Linked DNA regions of Homo sapiens: all the other regions are linked to region 2. The links are contacts of gene promoters, found by promoter capture Hi-C in blood cells and fetal thymus (Javierre and others, 2016). All regions are on one chromosome and are shown on one strand. Each heading gives the region's core, a stretch centred on a gene start or on the middle of the fragment in contact. The rest is flanking DNA. Distances are from core to core; before and after follow the strand shown.

Evidence for each region. The method cuts DNA at HindIII sites, captures the fragments that hold promoters and counts their contacts. A CHiCAGO score of 5 or more calls a contact.
Region 1: a contact is called between the fragment with the promoter of SPATA41 here and the fragment with the promoter of CHSY1 in region 2, in 6 of 17 cell types (non-activated CD4 T cells, naive CD4 T cells, total CD4 T cells and 3 more). The highest score is 9.3, in non-activated CD4 T cells.
Region 3: a contact is called between a fragment that was not itself captured here and the fragment with the promoter of CHSY1 in region 2, in 1 of 17 cell types (M0 macrophages). The highest score is 6.2, in M0 macrophages.

Annotation. Positions count from the first base shown.
Region 1 is chr15:100,347,718-100,352,331 of GRCh38, forward strand. It overlaps SPATA41 (spermatogenesis associated 41), which reads right to left and starts at 3,001. Exons shown (of 2, transcript NR_028139.1): 1 at 1,017-3,001. LOC105371021 (a long non-coding RNA gene) reads left to right here and starts at 1,889. Exons shown (of 3, transcript XR_007064777.1): 1 at 1,889-1,965; 2 at 2,658-3,228; 3 at 3,962-4,427. RefSeq lists an enhancer at 2,169-2,428. The HindIII fragment of the contact is 2,620 bases long and covers 702-3,321 here.
Region 2 is chr15:101,249,295-101,254,456 of GRCh38, forward strand. It overlaps CHSY1 (chondroitin sulfate synthase 1), which reads right to left and starts at 2,754. Exons shown (of 3, transcript NM_014918.5): 1 at 1,843-2,754. The coding sequence starts at 2,162. RefSeq lists silencers at 1,739-2,168, 2,359-2,668, 2,839-3,218. The HindIII fragment of the contact is 7,881 bases long and covers 1,554-5,162 here.
Region 3 is chr15:100,646,534-100,651,183 of GRCh38, forward strand. ASB7 (ankyrin repeat and SOCS box containing 7) reads left to right here. Exons shown (of 6, transcript NM_198243.3): 6 at 1,790-4,650. The coding sequence ends at 1,929. It also overlaps the pseudogene WDR12P2. Among named protein-coding and RNA genes, the nearest start is that of ASB7, 46 kb to the left of the region's middle. The HindIII fragment of the contact is 2,078 bases long and covers 2,180-4,257 here.

The DNA.
Region 1 (4,614 bases), core at 1,751-4,250, 900 kb before region 2:
CCAGTACCTGCAGATGACACACCTGCTATCTAATGATGGAACCACACCATCCCCAGAAAAGAGGCCCATTATCCTGTGTTCTGGAGCAGATCCTACACATCCAAAATGGTCCTGAATAAAATGTGCGTTATACATTAGGCTGTGAGGTGGGGGATGGGGAGAGTCCAGGACACATCCCCACATCATTCTCATCACAATTATGATCTGATTTACAGAAAACAGTATCTTTGAAGTGGCATTAAAGTGAAACTTCTGGATGAGCAAAACTGGCCAGAGGTCTACATTTAACTAAGTAGCTTAATTTACAAAAATGTCTGTCCTCAGTCTAGACCAAGGAAAAAGCAATGGTAACTGCATTCATTTATGTACTCATTAGGTCCTTCAACCCTTCTTCAGTGCCTACTTTCTGTGTGCCACGTACTGAGATGCCAAATGAAGAGGCAGCAGCATATAAATTGCACTTCTTTCCCCACAGTTCTCTATAGAGCTCTGTTATGAACTAGACACTGTTCCTGGTGCTGGGGATTTAGAAACGAAAAAGTAACTTCCCTGTGTTCTATCTAGTGGGGGAAGGCAGATAGAAAGAAATAATTTTGTGGGAATGTAAAATGGTACAGTCACTGTGGAAAACAGTACGACTATTCCTCCAAAATAGATTTACCCTATGATCCAGCAATTCCGTTTCTGGATGTGTACCCCAAAGCTTTGAAAGCGGGGACTCCAACAGGTATTTGCATACTCATATTCATAGTATGCAAATTTAACTAAGTAGATGTTGTCATGGCATTTGTAAGCTGCCATGGCACTAGCGGGAGTGTCTTTTGCCATGCTAATACATTATAATTAGTGTATAATGAGCAGTGAGGACGAGCAGAGGTTGCTTTTGTCACCATCTGGTTTTGGTAGGTTTTGGCCAGCTTCTTTACCGCATCTTGTTTTATCAGCAGGGTCTTTGTGACCTGTATCTGGCAAAACCTCCCCTGAGATGCAATTCATTGGTTCCTGGGGTAACCAACCTGCCTCCCTGGCAGCCACTGACTCATCCTGTGACGAAGAATGCCTAACCTCCTGGGAATGCAGCCCAGCAGGTCTCAGCCTCATTTTGCGCAGCACCTGTTCAAGATGGAGTCGCTCTGGTTCGAACACCTCTGACAGCTGCCCGACAATGTGAATGTACTTAATGCCACTGAACTTACAAATGATTGAAATGGTAATTTTACGTTATAGTACATTTTACTACAGTAAAAAATGTTTTAAAAAAGAAATCATTACTCTCTTGCTAAGATCTTGTTTCATCTTAACACACACGAGATGCCTTGTCTTCATTTCGTGGACAGGCAAGGCCGAATTCCGTTTCACAGATAGAGGACTGAGATCTGGAGGCAGAGGGCAGGAATTAAAAACAAGACAAACAAGAGCCTTATACAGGCAGTGTCTTTCTGAGTCTGATCCCTGTTGTCTTGAGAGCTGCGGTGAGGGAAAGTCGTCTTCAGAGCCCTCAGGGTCAAAGCAGTTTGTTACCCTTGAGATAGACAAAGCTCCTAACCTCTCCAGCTTTTTGCCGACAGCTCGATTCTGATGGGCACTGACCTTTTCCGACCCTGTTTTCAGGAGCCGACTCCTGGCAGGTTGGTTGTAGGGGCCCTCTTGAGTGCTTCACACACAGCAGTCCTGTTGGGGTGAAGGTCACCGTCACTGTGATAATTGTTGTCGTCGTTGAAACCACCCAGCCCGAAAGCAGCATGGGCTGTGCCCAGAGCCGCCGTGCCAGAAGCCCACGCTTAGAAATAGAGGGCCGAAGACCAAAGAGGACTGCGGGTTCTTGGGCCAAACGTGACCCTCTCAAATCCCCCAACTCGGGGATTTCGTTAGCTGGGGACTGGTGTGCCCGGGTTCCAAGACCCCTGCGTAGACTCTGTCTATAGGTGGAAGAAGGCCTTTGCCCCGAGGCATCCAGAGGTAACGGTGAGAGGAACAAGGGCACGTGGGGGATCCCACCACAGCCTCCCCTGAGACCCTCTTCACGCTGGTTGCAGGAGTAGCCAACCCCGCTCCCTGGCAGCCCGTGAGATGCCACATCCCCTCCAGCAGGGGGCGGCCGGCATCGGTCCCGTCTTCCTAAACCGGCGTTGGTGGGAAATGCCGGCACCAGCTCCCTCCCCGCTCCAGAGCCCTGTTTTCCCCATTTGTATTTCACTACTTTCCTGTTGAGCTTGGATTCCAGCCTCAAATTCCGCGATTTGGCCGGCATCCTAATCCCCGAGTGACTCTTGCCAACCACTCTCTGTGGGGCCTGTGTGCTTCCTCCTGGGTTCTGGGGCGCTGGCGGCGTCCGCTTCACCGGGAACGGGAGCCCCAGCCTCCCGAGGCCTTCCTGCCTGGCTCTGGGAATGGCCACTGTCCAGAAAGCCCCGCGGCCGTCCATGCTCGCTCGCTCAGTCAGGCCCTTGTGGGGATATTGCAGAACGAGTCCGAGTTACTATCCCTTTAAATACAGGCGTTTCGGCCTAGCTGCCGCCGGTCCAATCCGCAGCGCTTCCGTGCCCCACTTTCCCGCGTCAGCCTGGCTCCGGCCTCCACCAGGGGGTGCTAGTGAGATCCCAGCCAGCCTCAGAGCTGAGCGTCCAGGGCCTTCAAATGTCCCCATCCTTGAAAAGGCAACTCCAGTGGCATCTTCTGCGGGGAGACCAGAAGCAGCATCTGACGAGGAGACAGCACTGGCGGTCCCGACACAACTGAATCGGCAGGATGAGGGCCCTTAGTGTTAGGCACCGGCGGAGCTGCATCCCACCCCGTCTCGTCCCCTGAGAACAGCTGTGAGAAGCCGCCTATTTTTCATCGTTCTGCAACACACCTTTCCCTTCCTTGGGATATTTCTCCTCTTTCAGCATTGCCGCATCAGGGTTCCAAAGCCCCGTTTCTCTCCTAGTTCTTTCTTTGCTCAAGAAAAGCAGCTTGTCTGATAAACTAAGCTATGTATGATTCGCTGCCAGTACAGACTGAAAAACAAAATAAACTCCCAATTCACAGTCCTCCGTTGCGTAACAGTGAGCAGACGTTCTGAGAAATGCATCGTCAGGCAATTGCATCATTGTGCAAACAATATAGAGTGTACTTACCCAAACCTAAACAGCACAGCCTACTACACACCCAGGCTGTAGGCTGTGCTTCTAGACTACAAACCTGTACAGTGTGGTACTGAACACTGTAGGCAACTGTAACACAATGGTAAGTATTTGTGTATCTAAACATAGAAAAGATACAGTAAAAATATGGTATGAAAGATTGAAACTGGTGCACCTGCCTAGGGCACCTACCGTAAGCTTGGAGCTTACGGGACTGAAAGTTGCTCTGGGTGAGTCAGTAAGTGAGTGGTGAGTAAATACGAAGGCCTAGGACATTACTGTACACTACTGTAGACTTTAAAACCCTGTACACTAGGCCCACACTCAATTTATTTTTAAAAATTTTCTTTCCTTCAATAATATATTCACTTTAGCTTACTGTAACTTTTCTACCTTAAGAATTTTTAAATTTTTTGACTCTTTTAATAACAGCTTGAATACACAAACACATTGTACAGCTATACAAAAATATTTTCATTCTTCATATCCTTATTCTATAAGCTTTTTTCCTACTTTTGAAGTTGTTTATTTTTTACATTTTAAACTTTTTGTCAAATATTAAGACACAAACACACATTAGCCTAGGCCTATACAGGGTCAGGATCATCAATACCACTGTCTTCTGCTTTCACATCTTGTCCCACTGGAAGGTCTTCAATGGTAATAACACACATTCTTAGTAAATGCAAATAGTCATGGCTCAGACTGATATAGTAATGATAGACTATTCAATATGTGGTATTGGACAGCTGTTTATATATTTGTACGAACCTAAGTTAGATTCTGTGGTGGTTCAAAAATATATCCTCTAATTATGACCTGCTTCCCTTCAACAGGTGTACCTAATTCCTCTGCCTAGAAAGTGTGCTGGAATTACTGCCTGGCTTCTGATGAATAGGGCGTATTGAGAGTGATGCTTTGTGAGTTCTGAGGCTAGGTCATAGAAAGGATTGAACTTATTCCTGAATGTTGCTCTTGGATCACTTGCTTTTTTGGGAACCACCAGCCATGTCATGAGGACACTCAAGCAACCCTGCAGAGAAGCACATGTGTGGAGAGGCACTTCTTGGAAAGGAGGCCAACTTGCCAGAACCAACTAATTTGTCATGTGAGTGAGTCATTTTGGAAGCAGATCCTCTACCCTCAGTCAGGCCTTCCGATGATTTCAGCCCCCAGCCTTTGAGTCTGCCCCAAACACCATGAGTAGAGACAAGCCCTTCCCACTGTGTCCACCCTGGCTGAATTCCAGACCGTTAAAAAAACAAGAGAAAATAAATTATTATTAGTGTTTTGAGTCACTAAGTTTTGGACTAATTTGTTATGCAGCAATAGCTAACAACTACAGAGTCATAACACAAACTAAAATTAATTCTAAGGCATGTTAAAGATTTATATGAAAGCATTCATCTAATGGAGGTGTGCAAGAAGTGGCTATAAAAAATTTAGGGCACCCAAAAGCAACCTGTAGGCTGAGCAGGGTAAGTACATC
Region 2 (5,162 bases), core at 1,504-4,003:
CTAGAGTCATGCGGATTTACTTTCAAAACCATGCTGTAAATAATCTATATGGCTCATCCTCGATTTCCGATACGGCTGTTTCTCTGGTCAAAAAAAAAAAAAAAATCCCATAAAACCTCAGGTAATGCAAGGTAGATCTGGGAGAGATCCTGATAGGCTGGTTCCCAAATCACTGCACTAGTCTATGTATCTCTATCTATCGATCGATAGATAGAATTTTTTTTTTTTTTTTTTTTTGAGATGGAGTCTCACTCTGTAGCCCAGGCTGGAGTGCAGTGGCATGATCTTGGCTCATTGCAACCTCCGCCTCCTGGGTTCAAGCGATTCTCCTGCCTCAGCCTCCTGAGTGGCTGGGACTACAGGTGCACGCCACCACACCCGGCTAATTTTTGTACTCTTGAGTAGAGACGGGGTTTCACCATATTGGTCAGGCTGGTGTCGAACTCCTGACCTCAGGCGATCCGCCCGCCTCGGCCTCCCAAAGTGCTAGAATTACAGGCGTGAGCCACGGCGCCCCGCCTGCATTAGTCTGTATTTACAATACCTGCATTCTAAGCTTTTCAAGCCACTCAGGACCCTTCCTGGCGGAATGTGGGTTCTGGACTTAAGCAGGACCCTAATGGAAATGTGCAGGAATGGGGATCAAGCCATTCAAGGGGCAGTCACTGAAGACCACTTTCACCTTCTTTCTCAGTCCTTTACTTTCTCCCTTAAAGGCAAGGGAGACCATATATGCTTTTCCCCTCACAACATCTAGTGCCTGAAAAATCTGACCAAGACTGCATTTAAAAACTGAAGTGTAAAGGTATTGGTTATAAGAACAAACAGCAACCAGCTTAGCCTGGCTCAGCACTGGCTGCTCTGAAATTTCATTACCAGACAACTGATGCTCTAAAACCATTCCCCACATTGGTTTGCTCTGTGGCTGGATAAGACCCAAACTTTATCCATACAGTAAGTGTCTCTATACTTCACACATATAGGGTTTCCATCAAATCCCTTTATCGAGTCTACAACCCTCTCCAACTTCAAATTCACTCCAATACAAATCTGATTCTAACCATGCCAGCCATTCCAAAATCATCTCCCTTCTAGAGACTACATTGGCTAATCCCTTTGTTAAACCTGAACACAATTCCAGCTGCTTTTATGACTCATTTGGCCAACTAGAGCCCAGTTACTGGATAACATGCATACACCACCAAGCTGAACTAATTAACACCAGAATGCAGTTTTCCACTGAATCTACCAAGGGCCAAGAACTGCTTTTCCCCAAGGTTCTCTCTCTCTGTACTCAACAGACTGGTGTGGTCCAATATGCTGCGGGCATTCTCTTTCATTTATAGGAGTGCCTCCAACTGCGAAATGTGAGAGTATGATGTGGAAAGGTTCTAGAACTAGATTAACGTACACGGGCTCCAGCTTTGCAAGGACAAAGGTGCACATTTTAGGGAATCCAGTATCAGCCCCAACTGCCTCCACTATCAGGTACTGTGCTATGAGTTTTCCAACATTATGAGGGAGACCCGATCTGTCGGGCCCTTCTAACGAGAAGCTTCGATTTGCAAAGGCTAAAGTGCCTTCATCAGGGTGAGAGGTACACCCAGCGAGGCCACACTAGTCCATCTGACCCCAAAGGCCATGTTCCTGAGCGCCGCGCTCACCATCCCGCCTCTGATCTTTTCTCCCTCGGCCCGGCGTCTCCCGAGAGGCAACCCGATCCCGCCGGAAGCCCAAGAAGGGCCTAGGAAGCGGGCGGAGGCGAGAGCCAGGAGAGCACCCGGGATGCCGGCCGCCGGGATGCCGGACGCAGGAGGCGGTGCCCGGGGAGCAGGGGCTCACCTGTAGGCGGCCACGGCCCGAGTCTGCAGGTATTTCTGGGCGGTCATGACTCCCACGAAGAGAAAGTTCCTGTCGCGCGGGCCGCCATCTGGGTCCGAGCCGGGCGGCCAGAGCTGCGCCCCGCGCGCATCGCCGCGCGCCCCGCCGGCCTGGGAAGCCGCCGCCTGCCCGGACCGGCAGCCCTCGGGGCTGGCGCGGCGCCGTGGGCCCGCTCGCTTCAGCTCGGAAGCCCGGGGCAGGACGAGCCGCGAGGCCAGCACGAAGCCCAGGACGAGCCCGAGCAGCACGCTGAGCCAGGCGCGCCGGCCGCGCGCGGCCATGCCCGCGCCGCTCCGCCCGCCGGGCCGCCGCCGCAGGCTCCGCGCGCCCTCAGCCCGCTGCCCCCGCCCGCGGAGGCCAGCCCGCCCTAGCGCCGCGAGGCCCGGCCCGGGCAGCGCCGCCGCCGCCGCGGGCCCGCCGCGCCCATCGCGGCCCCCGAGCCGCCCGCAGGCCCCGCGCCGGCGCTTTGTTCCGCACGCCCGCCCCCGCCGCCGCGGCCTGCGCCTTTAAGAGGGGACCATGCCCGGCGCGCGCTAGCGGCGGCTCGGGCGCGAGGTGGCGGCGGCTCCTCCCGCTCGCGCGCGGGGACGCGGGGCCGGCACGACGGCGACGACGGCGGCGGCAGACGAGTCCGGGCTCCCGTCCCGCCCTGCCCGCGTCCTCCGGCTGGCTGGGCTCGGTTCGCACGGCGCCTGTCCCCGTCCTCTTCGTAGCCGGCGCCGCCGCCGCAGCTGCACATCCTCCGGCTTAGCTCGCCATTGCAACAGGAGCCCCTCACGTCACGCACGGCGCGTTATGAAGTGGCCCCGCCGGCGGCGAGCCGTGGCCCCTCTCGGGATCCGTCCGCGCCGCGCGATTGGCGCAAAAGTGAATGAGGGGCGGTTCACGTGGCCGAAGTTTGACCAAAAAAAAAAAAAGCCCTCTCGGGCGCCCCGCCCGCGCGGTCTGCGACTGGAGCTGGCGGGCGGAGGGGGCGTGGGCCCCCGCCCGGCGCCCGCGGGGCCGGAGCTGCCCGTGATCCGCACCTAGCACCCGGCGCAAGGGCGTCCCCGCGAGGACGGCCGCTTCCCGCACCGCGGCGCCCGGGCGCGAATCTCGGGAGCCAGCCTTGCAGTGGGGGCTTCTCGGCCCCCAGACTCCACGCTGCGCACGTTCCTCCCGCACGGGCCGTCCTCGCTGCACCCCACGGCCACGCCCTTCCTGCCGCCGGGCCGGCCCCGCGCTCCCGGCCCCGCGCTCCCGACCACACTGCAGCTTTGTCCGCAGTCCCGCGGCCGCACGCAGGGAACAGCCGTCCCGGAGCCCTGGGGACGTGCGCGCCTGCGAGTGGACCGTGAATTCAGTTACCTTGTTCCCTGTTGCTAGTTTCTACGCTAAATAAGAAGAAGAAGAAGAAAAAGCCATCTTTAATACTTAAGGTCCACGCTTCTCATACAGTACTAGCATTTAATGGATCTCGAAGACAAGGAAAATGAAGTTAATGCCCTGGATGGTAAACCCTACTTTCATTTACATACTGTGTGGGCAGATAGCCGGCTAGTACCCCCAGCCTGGGACTTTGTCCCTACTTTAATATAGTCCGTCTGTAAAAGTGCCGTGGATTTCTAAAGACGGATTTTGGGTCCCAGATCCTCTACTCTGGATTTTAAGTTTTATACATTTCCTCTGCAATACTTCAGCTAAGGCAGCAAAAGCGGAGGTCTCCATACAACGAAAGTTTGTGTAGAGTTTCAGTCTTGTTACTTAGTCACCAGTATATTGGGGTTTTCTAATGAAACTTTTGAAGGGCAAAGTGTTTCCCTGGGCCTGAGAAGTTACCTGCATTGAATCAAATAAACACATGCCTGGGGCAATCCTTGGATCTTTCTTCATTGTTGACCAAATGGTTGAAATACTATCACACAGTTTAAAATGCCTGTGGGAGCTTCAGATACCTTCTCGGCACCTGAATGGTGGTCACTCTTGTTTATTCTTTGGATATTACCACTTTCTTTGACACTTGTGATTTATATTAAAAATAGTTCATTACCTACCTTCCCACAGAGCCCCTCCCTAAGGGGTGATCCACATCTAAAAATAAAATACTCATTATGCAGTGAATACAGGATTCCAGCAGTGGTCTTGGGAAAAATACAGAACATACAACCATGAATTACAGGCTCGAAAACCATCGAAAAAGGTTTCCACTAAGACCATAAACCACAAATGCCGAGGAGTCACCAGATCCCCCAAATTCAGCAGCCCCATCATTCACAGTGATTTACATGAAGTACGAATCTGGCCAGATTCAGATGTTCAATTTTGTAGCATATTCAACGATTTCAGTATTTTCTAACCTGCTTTAGACTTACCTAGTTTTCTTCGAAACTAGTGTCCAGTGAAAAGCTGGCCGGGCGCGGTGGCTCACGCCTGTAAACCCAGCACTCTGGGAGGCTGAGGCGGGCGGATCGCCTGAGGTCAGGAGTTCGAGACCAACCTGACCAACATGGAGAAACCCCGACTCTACTAAAAATACAAAATTAGCCGGGGGTGGTGGTGCATGCCTGTAATCCCAGCTACTCGGGAGGCTGAGGCAGGAGAATCGCTTGAACCCGGGAGGTGGAGGTTGCTGTGAGCCGAGATCGTGCCATTGCATTGCACTGCAGCCTGGGCGACAACAGCGAAACTCCGTCTCAAGGAAAAAAAAAAAAAAAGTATATAAATATCTGATGGGAATAATATTCTGAGGATGCCAAATATTTTGTCCTCCTCAATATCCTGGTTCCTAGTTGTCCCTCAGTTCCTAGGTTAACAGTCTCACCTGTCTCACCTGCAGGCTTAATGGGGGTCTTTCGTAATGTAGAAAGGATACCCTTTTCTTTGTAAAGGCTGAGCCTGAGGGCTTACAATTCCCTGGAGAAGGAGAGTAAGACATACGGGAACTCCCTCTGGGAGAAGAGGGATATGCCAGGCCAAGAGAGGGTTGGAAGGAGAAGAGAGAAACTGAGGTCCTGTAGAAGTCTGCCAGGGGCAGGGACCAATTCCGGCATGCAGCCTAGGAGCAGGAGGGCAAGCTCTAGCACATCTGGAAGGAGCAGCTGGATTGTTGAGCTGAGGCAGTTCTCCTGGGGAAGAATCCAAAAGTGTCCCAGTAAGGGGCCTGGCTCAGGAGACAAGGCTATCCTAAGTGGGGATTTCACAGCCAGTAGCAAATACCTGGAATCAAGAACTTCAGTGACAGCCAGAGACCCAAACAGCTGGACAGGACTGGTACCCCCAGTATGAAGGCCTGTCCCATGCCC
Region 3 (4,650 bases), core at 1,969-4,468, 600 kb before region 2:
AGTAATTAATTGATGATGTTACTAAGGTCAACACTTTAAGAGACAGCAGGGATTGAGAAGGCAACATCATTGATGGCCTATTTCTTGTGATCAGTGTAGAAGCTTGTTTGCAGCTGAGCCATGTCAGGGAGTGTACACGACTTGCCCACAGTTATGGGTTAGTAGGCTGAGAACGGGAGCTCCTGTCTCTTAGGACTACAAAGAGACAGCTCAAAATTACACTGCACAGGTAAGCGAGAAGTTGCGGTGTAATCCCGGACTCTGTTTTCTCTCCATGGGTCTCCTCCTGATTTTCATAATAACACTGAGACATGATTTGCCTTTCTCTCATTCCTTTTATCATGAGTGTCAGTTTTTTCCAGAGACGAGGTGGTGTGATTGATGTGACTTATCTCAACAGATTGAATTCAGAAGCATATATGAAAATTCAGCTATCATCTATTAAACCATACATTAAAAGCTTTGCAAAAATGTGAAAGAATGACGTTCTTGTTAAATTTTTTTTTGGTTTTGGAAAATATAGTTACTTTTCATAATGATGTGTTATTTATGTTAACATGTAATGGTTTATTAGAATGAATTTAAAAGTATTTCTAAAATGTCTGTTTTAACTTATAATATGGCATTTACTATAGAGATAGCCCACATAAAAGTTTCTGGGGGTTCGCAATAATTTTTTAAAGTGTAAAGGAGTTTTGAAAACAAAAAGTTTGAGAATGACTGAAAAATGGCATTCAACTTGACTTTAAGCATGTTACTTAATCTCTCTGAGACTCTATAAAATGGGGATGATGATCAAAGTACTTCCCTCGTAAAAGGATGAAAGGAGTTAATACATGTCATGAGCTCTTAACAATACATGGCGCAGAGTAAGTATTCAATATATATTAGCTTTATTATCATGTTTAATATGAAAGCAAAACTTCCTTGACTCCAAACACTACTGAAGCACAGTTGAAGAATTCTTCCTTGTTTTTGGAGCCATCTGTATTGTTTTTGTAAAACAAAATATTCCAAAGGGAAAGAAATAGGATTTTGTGATTTTTCTTTTGAATTGAGATATAACGGGTTTTTATTGGCAAGTGATCAGGGTGTGGAAGCTTGAAGCGATGTAGATTCAGAATACCTTGAGGCGCTTTTTCACACCCCCTTCTGCTGCACTCCTCAACTGTCAGCCTTACAACCAAGGTTCTGCTGTGTTCAGAATCACGGAAAACAGGTGAGCAGATCTGGAAAGCTTGTTTGGAAAGCTCCACAGAGACCGTGGTGGGTGTCCGGGCTCCAGTGTCCTAGACCCAGAGCTGAAAGGGAGGCTCACAATAGGGGACATCTCTTTCAGTCCCCACACTTTTCAGATTGAGAAGCCAAGGCTCAGAGGAATGATTGGCTCACAGTGGCTCACCCAGCGTGAGAGAGACCTAGTCAGGACGAGAACCAGAATTTTCCTGATTTATAACAGAAAGGATATGAGGCTTAGAATCAAAACTGTTTTTGGTCTCAGTTGAAAGCCTTAATTGGTTGTCTGATATTAAGCAACTTGTTTACATCTGATACTCAGTTTTCTTATTGGTAAAATGGAGTTGAAAATATCCACCATCCCACGGTTGTGAAAAGGATCAAATAAGGCATCGCATGAAGGTCCTAGGACACTTTGAGTTGGTATCTTTCCGGTCCTTTGCATGTCAAGTCCATAGAGAGAACTTCCAGGGAAATGAACAGTTCTTTTCAAAAGTGCCTTAAATATTGTGCTTTGTGGCTTTGTAACATTTTCTTTTTTCTGTCTTTTTAGGACAGCCCAGAAACTTGCAGGACCTGTGCCGAATTAAAATTCGACAATGTATAGGCCTTCAAAACCTAAAGCTACTTGATGAACTACCAATTGCCAAGGTCATGAAAGACTACTTAAAACACAAATTTGATGATATCTGATATGCCAGAACTGTGAGCAAGATTAGGAGTTCTATTCTAGATACTTAAAAGGCTTTTTGCCTTGCACAAAGTATATCCTATGCAATTTCTGATTTGCTGTGAAATCAGAAAGCAGGTATACACTTTTGGGTTTTCTGTTTGTTTGGTTGGTTTTCATTGTAGGGGAGGGATTTTTTATATATATATAAAAACACACACCACATGCTTGAAGGTCTTAATTTGGTTTCTTGGTCCAAGTTTAAGAGGTCCAAGCTTTGTATACAATACTGCATTTAGAAAAATTGTCTTTTCTTAAATGACACAAGCAGGTTTAGAGTGGAGAATTTACCCTTTCCAAATTTATGGTTCCTTGGTAAGCACGGTATTCTAAACCAGCAGAGCACTTGTTAACGTTTGGAGGCACAGTTTCACCCAGGGCGACCCTGGGTTCTTTTGGAAAATGCCCTAAGAAATGTTTGAAGTAACGCTGTCACCTCATTCATTTTTAATGAGTACAAACTGGCCGTTTCAAACTGTTCTTTTTCCTAATTAATGTAGCTTTCGGATGACATAAATCCAGTATCTCTGCTTATGACATAAATCCAGTACCTCTGCTTTTCTTTTGCTGTGCTCTTGTTTTTAACTTATTTTTTTTTTAACAACTGTAGTACACTACCCTGAGACACTGCATCTCGATTTCTATCTCTAGTTAGAGTTGTACTTTTAAAAAAATTAACGGGAAAGAAAATAACTTTGTGAAGCCAGTGTATTCTGTTTTTAAAACTGTGCCTGCAGTGCAATACTCCTTCTGGTGTATTTTATCCATTATTTCACTTGCTGGTCGTCATTTCACAGCCAGCTTTGACATGCCCGTGAGGACAGGAGCCGCCGCTTCAGTTGTCACTGCAGAGCCATCGTATGTCAGTTGCAATTTCCATCTGAAGCTATGTCTTTGACTTCACTTTAAGCAGAAAATTTTGTACCCTGGTGGTCGAGTCTTCCCTTAAAAATTGTTAAATCATTTGGCTTTAATGGTTCAATAATTTGGGGTGGCTTCATGGTGTTTCTTTTCTTCCCAGTTTAAAAAAAAAACTTTTTAAGCGTAAAATCTTTAAGGGGTACACATTTATAAGTCTGGCTAATTTCTAATATGCTAATTAAACATTTCCCATTTTAAGGTTATATACAGTGAGGCTCTTCAGGACAATTATTTTCTGGGTTGATTGGGCATATGTTTGCCGTGTAAACACGGATATGATAAAGTGTCAGTAACAATGGAAAAGGTCCCAGAGGCATTAGGCATCTAAGAGGATGCCCTCAGAAACGTATTCTGGCTTGATTTGTGTTATTAACTTCAGAAGAACCTTTTCAAATGTCCCAGTATCGTTCTTAGTGCTTTGGGAAAAAATATTTAACACACTGTTAATAAATTTGTTATCAGAAGTTTACAAGACGAAGGGCTTCTCTCGTCTGAATTTCTAGATTTAAGTCATGAAGTGTAAAACTGTTTCACCCAGAAGTGTAACTAAGCAGAACTAGGAGTTTTCTCTGGCTTCACCTTTTTCAGAGCCAGCAGTGCTGTTTTCTCAAGCACAGCGTTTGCTCTTAGACTCTGATCTGCTTGTGCCTAAGCATTGCACAGGTTTCCGAAGACGGGCAGCTTCAGAGAAGAGGATTATTCGGGAGATTGCTGGTGTGGCCCATAGACTCTTTGGCATAGACTCTTTCGCAGGCAGCCACTCTGAGTGTGGCCAGTTCTATAACCATCCCCAAACTAGCTGGAGCCTGATGGATAGGAACGGGTAGTCTGTCCTCTTCCCCATAAAAATGTTCCAAAAAGTTATCTCCAGAGAGAGTCCCTTATGAAGACAGTTGCCAAGCTGTATTCTCATTCTTTAAACCAATACCCAGGTCAGGGCTAGTTCACACTAGCACTGTTAGGGACATGGTGTGGCTAGAAATGAATTGAGTGTGACTTCTCCCTACAACCCCAGGCCCAGGGATAGGAGGAGGCAGAGGGGTGCCTGGAGTTTCTGCACTCTCATCAGTGATGTTCATGTTACACTTGCACAAGGGCTGATTTCCACGTATGTGTGTGTTAATTTATTCACTTAGTTTCAAAAGATTTTCTCTCCCCAGCCATTCAGAGGTTTCCAAACTAAGCCACTGAGTTTGAGTCAGGGAATTCCACGTAAAAAGATCAGATTAAGGTAAATTCTTTGTTCTGTATTGCTGCTGTGACTTCAGAAAAAAAAAATTATGAGAGCTCTTCCTGGAATTTTGAAATTTCTATTTAATGAAGAAGTGTATAATTCCATTATTTATTGTTTGAGGTTTGATTTATCTGGAAGCTTAAAAAGAATGTTTTATTTTTGTTGTTAATAAAATCCCAATCACATTTCACAATAACTAAAATGTCTCCAGGTGGGTTACTGGTAGATGATAGTGGTGACACCTGCAGGTCTGCATTTGAATTGGATTCACAGAGAAGCATTCCATGGTCACATAATGAATAGGGAGAACAGATATTTTCAGAAAAATCAACCGATTGTTTTTTCCAGAAACAGAACAGAAAATGTTCAGAATATTTTCAAATTTGTCAGATTCTTTTATGTTTCCTTTGAAATTTATTATTTAAGCCTATTACTAAACCTTTATAAAAATATATTTGGCAAATACACCAAAGAAACCAGCTTACAAAAGATTATGATCATTAATGAACTGCAAACCTCATCTTTCGAA